3 separate regions of the Homo sapiens genome follow, and regions 2 and 3 are each linked to region 1. Evidence: promoter capture Hi-C in 16 types of primary human blood cells and fetal thymus (Javierre and others, 2016). All regions are on one chromosome and are shown on one strand. Each heading gives the region's core, a stretch centred on a gene start or on the middle of the fragment in contact. The rest is flanking DNA. Distances are from core to core; before and after follow the strand shown. Region 1 holds the start of OR5C1 (olfactory receptor family 5 subfamily C member 1). Region 2 has its middle 7.1 kb from the start of MIR4478. Region 3 overlaps NDUFA8 (NADH:ubiquinone oxidoreductase subunit A8).

Evidence for each region. Contacts are between HindIII fragments. The CHiCAGO score rates a contact against its expected background, and 5 or more counts as called.
Region 2: a contact is called between a fragment that was not itself captured here and the fragment with the promoter of OR5C1 in region 1, in 4 of 17 cell types (activated CD4 T cells, naive B cells, M0 macrophages and 1 more). The highest score is 6.5, in activated CD4 T cells.
Region 3: a contact is called between a fragment that was not itself captured here and the fragment with the promoter of OR5C1 in region 1, in 1 of 17 cell types (M0 macrophages). The highest score is 7.1, in M0 macrophages.

The regions. Positions count from the first base shown.
Region 1 is chr9:122,787,335-122,790,378 of GRCh38, reverse strand. It overlaps OR5C1 (olfactory receptor family 5 subfamily C member 1), which reads right to left and starts at 1,446. Exons shown (of 1, transcript NM_001001923.1): 1 at 484-1,446. The coding sequence starts at 1,446. The coding sequence ends at 484. The HindIII fragment of the contact is 2,532 bases long and covers 333-2,864 here.
Region 2 is chr9:122,125,756-122,128,799 of GRCh38, reverse strand. No RefSeq gene overlaps it. Among named protein-coding and RNA genes, the nearest start is that of MIR4478, 7.1 kb to the right of the region's middle. RefSeq lists enhancers at 592-1,357, 1,358-2,124, 2,125-2,890, 2,891-3,044. The HindIII fragment of the contact is 5,201 bases long and covers 1-3,044 here.
Region 3 is chr9:122,144,233-122,147,276 of GRCh38, reverse strand. NDUFA8 (NADH:ubiquinone oxidoreductase subunit A8) reads left to right here. Exons shown (of 4, transcript NM_014222.3): 4 at 2,899-3,044. The coding sequence ends at 3,036. Among named protein-coding and RNA genes, the nearest start is that of NDUFA8, 14 kb to the left of the region's middle. The HindIII fragment of the contact is 1,481 bases long and covers 708-2,188 here.

The DNA of each region.
Region 1 (3,044 bases), core at 197-2,696:
GCCATCCACGTCCCTGAAAAGGATATCATCTCTTTCTTTTTTGTGACTGCATAGTATGCCATCATGCCCAGCTTATTTTTAACAATTTTTTTTTTTTGTAGAGATGGTGGGGGGGTCTCCCTGTGTTGCCCAGGCTGGTCTTGAACTCCTGCCTTGGCCTCCCAAAGTGCTGGGGTTACAGGCATGAGCCACTGCACCCAGCTGAATATTGAAGAATGTTTTGAATGTTGAAGAACCTGAGGCAGTGCAACAGAAACATTAGCCTGGTCTAGCGTCTGGCTCTAGGTCTAGCCCTAGATGAACCCCAAATCTTTTTCTCCCTGCTATAAGCTTTCATTTCCCTCTTTACTGTCCCTTAAACAATGACATGAGACATCCAAGCCAGAGGAACATCCCATCTTTACCGACAGTGACGGGGCCAGAAAGAGGCCCCGACCTTCCTCATCCCCTCATAGTCAGACCTACCCAGCCTCCCTGGACCAATCACTGGGACCCCTGCCCTGGACAGTGGAATCGGCTCCAGGTCTGCCTGAGGGCCTCCTTGACCTCCTTATTGCGGAGGCTGTAGATGAGTGGGTTGAGAGACGGGATGACCAGGGTATAGAACACAGAGGCCATCTTGTCAGTGTCCAGGGCATAGCTGGAGCTGGGGCGCAGGTACATGAAAATGAGTGTCCCGTACATCATGGCCACGGCTGTGAGGTGGGAACCACCGGTGGAGGCTGCTCGCCGACTGCCCTCGACCGAGCGCATGTGGATCACAGCCCCAGCGATGAAGCCATAAGACACCGTGATAGCTAACACCGTGGCTGTCTGGATGAAGCCACAGATGGCGAAGAGAAGGAGTTCATTGAGACTGGTGTCACTGCACGAGATGGCCAGCAGTGGAGGGATATCGCAGAAGAAGCTATTGATCTTCCGGGAGCGGCAGAAGCTCAGGCGGAAGGTGAGGGTTGTGTGAACAAAGGCACTCACTGCCCCACCCAGGCCTGATGCTCCCAGCAAGGCCAGGCATAGACGCTGCGACATAGCTGTTGTATAGAGAAGTGGGTTTCTGATGGCCACGTAGCGGTCATAGGCCATGGCTGCCAGCAAGCAACACTCAGTATCAGCCAGACCTGCAAAGACAAACATCTGGAGGGCACAGGCTGTGTAAGGGATGGTGGCTCGGGGCAGCAGCAGGTCCACTAGCATCTTGGGGCCGATGGCGGAGGAATAGCAGGCATCCAGCAGGGAGAGGTTGGCCAGGAAGAAGTACATAGGTGTGTGGAGCCGGGCATCCATGCGGATCAGCAGCGCCATGCCCATGTTTCCCAGCAGGCTCACCAGGTAGACAGGCAGGCAGGTCAGGAAGAGGGCCACACGCAGGTCCCAGCGATTTGTGATGCCCAGGAGGACGAATTCAGCAGGGGCAACCGCGGCCCGGGTGAGGTTCTCTGAGTTCATCCTACTGGACAGAGACTGAGAAGAGGCAAAGCAGGAGGGAGATAAGAGCAATGGCAAGGCCATGGCCAGGGAGAAGAAAGCATCCTGTACTGGGAGTTAGGTAGGCTTGGGTTTCAGCTCACCTGTGCAACAAAATTGCTGTGACCTTGAGCAAGCCACGTAACCTCTCAAAACCTGTTTCTAACTCTTAGAAGTCATTGCAGAAGCCTTTTTTTGTTTTTGAGATGGAGTTTTGCTCTTGTTACCCAGGCTGGCGTGCAAAGGTGTGATCTCAGCTCACCACAACCTCCGCCTTCTGGGTTCAAGCGATTCTCCTGCCTCAGCCTCCCAAGTAGCTGGGATTATAGGCATGTGCCACCGTGCCTGGCTAATTTTATATTTTTAGTAGAGATGGAGTTTCTCCATGTTGGTCAGGCTGGTCTCGAACTCCCAACTTCAGGTGATCCGCCCACCTCAGCCTCCTGAAGTGCTGGGATTACAGGCATGAGCCACTGTACCCGGCCCGTCTTTTTTTCTTTTTTCTTTTCTTTTCTTTTCTTTTTTTTGAGATGGAGTCTTGTTTTGTTGCCCAGGCTGGCGTGCAGTGGTGCAATCTTGGGTCACTGCAACCTCCGCCTCCTGGGTTCAAGTGACTCTCCTACCTCAGCCTCCCGAGTAGCTGGGACTACAGGTGCCCGCCACCATGCCCGGCTAATTTTTGTATTTTTTAAGTAGAGGTAGGGTTTCACCATGTTGGTGGTCAGGCTGGTCTTCAACTCCTGATCTCAAGTCTGCCTGCCCCAGCTTCCCAAAGTGTTGGGATTACAGGTGTGAGCCACCACGCCCAGCCTTTTTTTTTTTTTTTTTAAAGAGACACAAGGTCTCACTATGTTGCCCAGGCTGAACTAAAATTCTTGGGCTTAAGTGATCCTCCTCCCACCTCAGCCTCCCAAGCAGCTGGGATTATAGGCATGCTCCACCACACCCACAGGGGTCTTGTCCCTCTTATTCACTTTTGTGTCTACAGCACTGAGAGCATTGCCTAGCACATAGCTGGTGCTCAAAAAAGATTTGTTAAATGAATGAATGGGATGATATTTAGTGTCCAGCCAATGATTGAAAACTTTGTGACTCTATATGCATTCTCCTCTCCAGTTTTCCAGGTAAGAAAAGAGACAGTGGAATGAGCAGAAATAATCTTCAGATCCAACGGGCACCTGGCCATGGCTTTTGAGGTTTGCTAGTAGGGACATCTTTCCTTTGGAGTAAGATCGGAGAAAGGAGTAGCCTGGTATCTTGCGAAAACAGTGGGGAGTAGAAAGAACAGAAAATGTGAATATATTCCTGAGCTGAATTCTTGGCCTCTCTGAGCCTCAATGTTCTCATCTGGATAATGGGGGAAAGCTGCAAGGATTCGATGAGATAATGCATGTAAAGCTTCTCACACAGGGCCTAGCACACGCAGGCATTTAACAAAGGCCCTGCGAATGGAAATAAATTGAACTGGATGCTCTGGCTCCAAACTGGAAGGAAGCAACTTTATGGCAATCAAAAGTAGTATAATTCCCAGAAAATGCAATGTTGCTTCACACTCCTGTGCCTTGCATTTGTCCTCTTTG
Region 2 (3,044 bases), core at 267-2,766, 660 kb after region 1:
CAGATGGCCTGGGTCCCTCACAGGCAGGGGTCAGCTGTGCATCATGCATTGGGACACGCAGGAGCAGGGAGGCTGCCGGGCCGGGGAGGCTGCAGGGCCAGGCGCGGCCGGATTCACAGGTTGAAGACTGTTCCTCTGGGCTTCCGGACTCCGTGCCTTCCCCCACAGCCCCTTCCCGGGCCGCCTCCCTTCCTGGCCCGGTGCTGGGGGTGACTAGCGGGTGGGGTGGCATCCGGGCTGGGGCTAGAACTGTGAAGAGGGTGTCTGGGTAGAGACTGATGGCCTGTCAGTTGGCTGCCAGCACATCCTCAAATTCTTTGTCTCTGTGTGGAGTGGGGACTGTGGAGGGGGCAGGGGTTGGGCACAGCAGAGGAGGAGGATGCCGGGGTGGGGGCAGGAGAGGGGCATGGCGGGTTGCGGGAGGCCTCCGTGGTCTGCTGGTGCTTACGCTTGTCGGCGGTGTGTGTCTTCGGGAAGTCAGGTCCTTGCCCCCTGCTTTGGGGCCAGAGACAGGAGTTCAGATCCTAGCTCTGCTCCCCACTTGCTGGGGGTGGGGGGGTCCCAGGCCTGTATCGTTCCTGTTTCCAGTCCTAGGCCTCTGTTTCTTCATCCATGCAATGGGTCTATCCAGCTCTGACCTGCTGTGATCTCTGTAAATCTGAGCTGATTAGAACATTTGGCCCTGAAATTCCAGAGGCCTTTAGGCTTCCCTGATGGAGGGAGCATGGGGCTGAGTCTTGGTGCTGTCAGGGAGGCACTGAGGGGGCTGGGGGTGGGGTCAGAGAGGTGGGGAAGGTGAACCCTCCCCACTGCAAGGCCTGGCAGTAGGGCAAAACCAGGCTGCTTATCTCCCCAGCCTGGGCACCCTGGATGACTGTGCTGGGGACATGGGGCTGATGGAGGGGTCGCCAGGGAGGAGGCGGAGAAGACAGAGATGTCATCTGTCCTGAAAGACACAGCCCTTCAGGGCTTCCTGCCCTCTCTGCAGTTCTTGCCAGGTCACCTGGGCCCCAAAGACCCCACAGTTCTGTTCACCAGCCCCCTTCAGTCCTTGTCACCTGGCTACTGCTAGGCAGCCACACTCAGCTCCATGATCTCACCAGCAGCCAAGTAGCTGAACACACAGTCACAGCGCCCCCGCCCCCACACACACACATAGGCACAAAGCCTGTGGCACAGTCACACATGGGCTTGTAGAGTTATAGGTGCCCCCGCGTGCACAGCCCTCCTGGGAGCCAGCACGGGAGATCACGCATGCGTGCCCACCCCAGCGTGTGGGTGAGCCCAGGGCTGTGCCCAGCCCAGCTCTTAGAGAACCACTCTGAGGCCTCCCTAGACAGAGTCGCAGGAGCCGTCCTAGAGGGGTGGGGGTGGTGATGGGATGAGAAGCTCTCTGTGGGCCTCTGATCCCCTCCTTTAATAAAAGGAGCTAGAAGGCCCCCTCCTCAGCACCCCACCCCCCAGCCTCAGCACCCAAAGCATCCATTATTCCACCCGATGCCCCCTCTAGTTCTGCGGGGTGAGTGCGCTGAGCACATCTTACAGAGGGCAAACTGAGGCTGGGGAGGAGAAGGGGGGTTGCCCAAGGGCAGAGCTGGTGAGGTCAGAAGCAGAATTGCAAGCCGGGGCGGTGGGCCCCCAAACCTGTGTTCTCTCAGGCCGCCCACCCCCATCTGCCGGGCTGGGGTGTGGACCCCGAAGCGTGCCCCGGGCCCCCTCCACCCCAGCACCCAAGGGCCTCCCGGACACAAAGCCACCTGGCGGCGCTCGAGGGGGCGCGCGTGGGAGCGCGCACGGTGGCCCGCGCCTCCGGCCAAGATGTTCCCTCTCCGCGTGATTGACAGGCTCGAGTGCCGAGAAACAAAATTGTTTATGCGCTAATGAATAAGGCCCTGATTGCAAGATCCTGTTTGGAAAATTATAGTGCGGCGGCGGCGGCGGCGGCCGCGGCGGCCCAATTACAGCCCGCGCTGCATATTCATTTCGTCTCTCCTTTGCATCGAGATGAACGGGCGCCCCGCGCCCTGCAAAGGCAACGCCAAATTTAGTCCCAGGTTCCGCACTCCTCCGCGCCATTGTCTGCCCCGGACCACCTGCCTCCTGCCGGCCTGATTGCCCGGGAGGGCGCGAGCAGGGAGGCCAAGAAAGTTCTCCCTACCCCTCCTCCTGGCAACCCCTTCCCTCGGTTCTCTCCGCTCCCTCCTCCGACTCCCCGTCTCTGTCTCCCTTCCCCTCCCGGTGTCTCTTTCTCCCTCTGTTCTCTCTCTACTTATTCTGTGCCCCGCACTTCCTCTCCTCGCTCTAGGCCTCTATCTGGGTGCATCACCGGTCTAGAATGTCAGTCGCTGTCCCTCCCCCTCCAGCTTCACATTCCCTGCGTTCCTGGGTCCCTGGGTACAGCAGGGGCAGTAACGGGGACCGTCTGCTCCTTGGAGGTCACAGAGGTATGAGGCGGGTCTCAAGACCCCTGCCTTGGCTGTGAGCATGGGGTGGCTTGGCTCGTCCCCGCAACCAAGCTGCTGGGGAGAGAGGCCCCTCCCTGCCCGCTGCCTCTGCCGCCTCCCGCATGCCACCAGATCCACTTATCCTGCGGCTCAGGCCCCTTGGCTGCCCAGGCTGCGCCCTCACACCTCCCTGCCCTGCACATGCTGTTCTCTTGCTGGCACGCCCGTCCTGTCTTCCCAGACGCATCCCAAGTACAGCTCAGAGCAGCCTTCCCCTGTCCCCACCACCGCAGGCAACAGGACAGCTCCCTCCCAGAGCACGCTGGTGTCCAGGCATGTCCTGCAGGTACAGCAGCAGGCAGGGTACACTGGCGTCCTTCTCCCGGGCCTGACCAGCCTGGGGGCTGCCGGTGAGTCACCAGGAAGCTCTGGTGTCCAGCTCAAGGCTGATCAAACGGACACCTCCACTGTGATATGGGGGTATAGTCTCCCTGTCCTTGTTGTATGGTGATGGTGGGCAGGAGGGGAGAGGAGGCTGGGAGGGAGGGACTGGGGCTTTGCAGCACCTGGACGCCACAGACCAGGACTGGCCCTGGTTCC
Region 3 (3,044 bases), core at 199-2,698, 640 kb after region 1:
CTTTAGATTAGCATCTTCTGGAATTTTTTTTTTAATCCTCTCATTGTTCCTGCTGCTGTTATCTTATTCTTGGACAGGAGTTCTTAACCTGGGGTACATGAATTTCTGGGAGAGGAGGGTGGATCAATGTGGGCTTTAGATGAAATTGAAGAATTGAGGATTAAATTACACCTCCACAAGAAGAGTGATCTGTGTGGAAAACAAATCTTATGTCACTGTGTTTTTAAAAACTGTACGGGGACTCTCCATTGCTGGTGAGATAAAGCATCTTCTCCATAACATGGCATGCAGGCCCTTTATGATCTGACCCATCCCTGCTTCTTCAGCCTCAGCTCCCTCTGTTCCCTGTGGAGCAGCACAGGTAGCAAGGCATGGAGGAAAAAACTCAGGTCTTACTCTCTCTCCTAGGCTGGAATGCAGTGGTGCGATCACAGCTCACTGCAGCCTTGACTTCCTGGGCACAGGTGATTCTCCCACCTCAGCCTCCCAAGTAGCTGGGACTACAGGCACAGGCCACCATGCCCAACTAATTTTTGTATTTTAGTAGAGACAGGATTTTGCTATATTACCCAGTCTGGTCTTGAGATCCTGAGCTCAAGCAGTCCTCCCACCTTAGCCTCCCAGTGTGATGGGATTACAGGTCACCATACCCGGTCTAGTTCCCTTCTCTTTGTGTATAGCATCTGTGAATGGTTGGATTATAAGCTTGGTGTCATGAGTAATAACTTAGCAATTTTTTTGTCTTTTATATCTGGCTTGATTATTTTCAGATACTTTTTGATGTACTGAACATATTATTTTAAATAGTTGATAATTCTAGATTGGAAAGTGGTAGAACTTATACATGTAACAAATAAAACTACCTTTTCTCATTTCTGACTTATGAAAGAAGAAATAACAAGTCATGCTAGTAAGAAAGCATATTTATTCTTGAATCTTTGTATTAACATTTTTTAAAACTCTGTGAGATAAAAAAAAAATTCTCTTAACTCTTTTCAAAAGTGTATTTCTCGATCAGGTGCCATGGCTCACACCTGCAATTCTAGCACTTTGGGAGGCTGAGGCAGGAGGATCGCTTGAGCTCACGAGTTCAGGACTAGCCTGGGCAACATTTTTTTTGTTTTTCTTTTTGAAGTGGAGTCTCACTCTGTCACCCAGGCTGGAGTACAGTGCCACGATCTCTGCTCACTGCAACCAGTGCCTTCCGGGTTCAAGCAATTCTGCCTCAGCCTCTTGAGTAGCTGGGATTACAGGCACCCGCCACCATGGCCAGCTAAATTTTGTATTTTTAGTAGAGAAGGGGTTTCACCATGTTGCCTGGGCTGGTCTTGAACTCTGACCTCAAGTGATCCACCTGCCTCAGCCTCCCAGAGTGCGGGGATTACAGGCATGAGCCACTGTGCCCAGCCAATTTCATAAATGTCTTTAATTCCTTAAAGGAGCTGCAAATACCAAGGAACCACTAGTGGATCATTAGGAACCATCTGTACTTATGACAGGGCGGTGGGATAACTTTCAAAAGCAAACAAACGAAACTAGTAGACTTGAAGACTTAGGTTCCAGCTTTAGCTCTGACATTAGTGTGTATCTTATCTTAGGCATGCCAACCTCCCTGGTCTTCATCTGTGCACTAGAGATAATAATGCCTCATAAGGTGGTTATAATAATAATTGGGTGATTGTATACACAAAAGCTCTGTTCCCAATAAAAGGTTTCTGAATTTATACATCTAGGAAGATGAATCTGGTCATTTTACATGAGGTGACTTAAGAGTTCAGCCCAGTAGAAGAATAATCAGAAGACTGCTGACAGCTGTGGCCTTATGTCTTCTTACTTCTCTGGGCCTATTTCTTTATCTTTAAAATGACAGCAGTTTCTGCTGGCTTTCCAGTTGAGATTTTTGTGACCATCAGGGGATACTGTGAGTGTAAATTATCTCTCTCCCTGTTGCAGTTTAGTACTTCACCACTCTCCTGGCTTATTGGCTCAGCTCCCCAATTTGGGTCTTGCCTCTCTCCACTTTAGCTTTCACACTTCCCAGCCTACAGAGATGGGATTTAGTTACTGCCGTGCTTCAGTGGCACCTGTTAACCGTCAGGTTAAAACGCAAACACCTTTGCATATCATTTAATACCCTTTATCATCTGGCCTGTCCACCACTGTAGTGTGGTATTAAGAAGCACAAGCTTTGGAGTAGGCATATCTGGCTTTGTGTACAATTTCTTCCACTATTAGCTAGGTGGCCTCAGTGAGCCCCTGCAGAATGACCTCCTAAGAGTGAAAATGGAATGGAATCATGTGCTCAGCATCATTTCTAGCAATAAGTTCTTGGTGAGATGCTTCATCTCCCTCCATTCTTCATGCAGCCTTTGATTCAGCCATTCTGAAGACATGCCTGCCTATCTTCATATGTAGTCTTTCCTTGGAATGTCTTTTCCTCCCTTGCCTTTCTGACTGGCTCCTGCTCAGACTTTAAGCTAAGTCTTACCTCCTTAAAAATATTCCAGACCCCCAGCCTTCAGGATGGGTTAGATGTGCACAGTCCTTGCTCCTATAGAGGCAGTTCCTGTCTCCATCATTGCCATTAGCCATCAGGGTGATTTGGAAATCTTGGTTGTTATTCCTGGCTTTCTCCCTCACTAGACTGTGATCCCCTTGAGGACAGTATCTTGTTCCCTTCTGTATCCCTAGTTTCTACCACATGGAATGACATAAAGTAGGCTTTCCTGAGTGTTTGTTCAATGATTAAATACGTCTGAATGTGATTTGCTGGGAATTTAAGTCGGGGAGCAGTTGTAGCAGCGGGAGCAATGAGGAGACACCAGGAGGCGCATTGATGGTTACAGATTCCTCCACCCTAGCTTTCAACTTTGCTTTTGCCCTCTTCACCCTTCCCAGGTCACCAAAGTGAAAACAGATCGACCTTTACCGGAGAATCCCTATCACTCAAGACCAAGACCGGATCCCAGCCCTGAGATCGAGGGAGATCTGCAGCCTGCCACACATGGCAGCCGCTTTTATTTCTGGACCAAGTAAAGATGGGT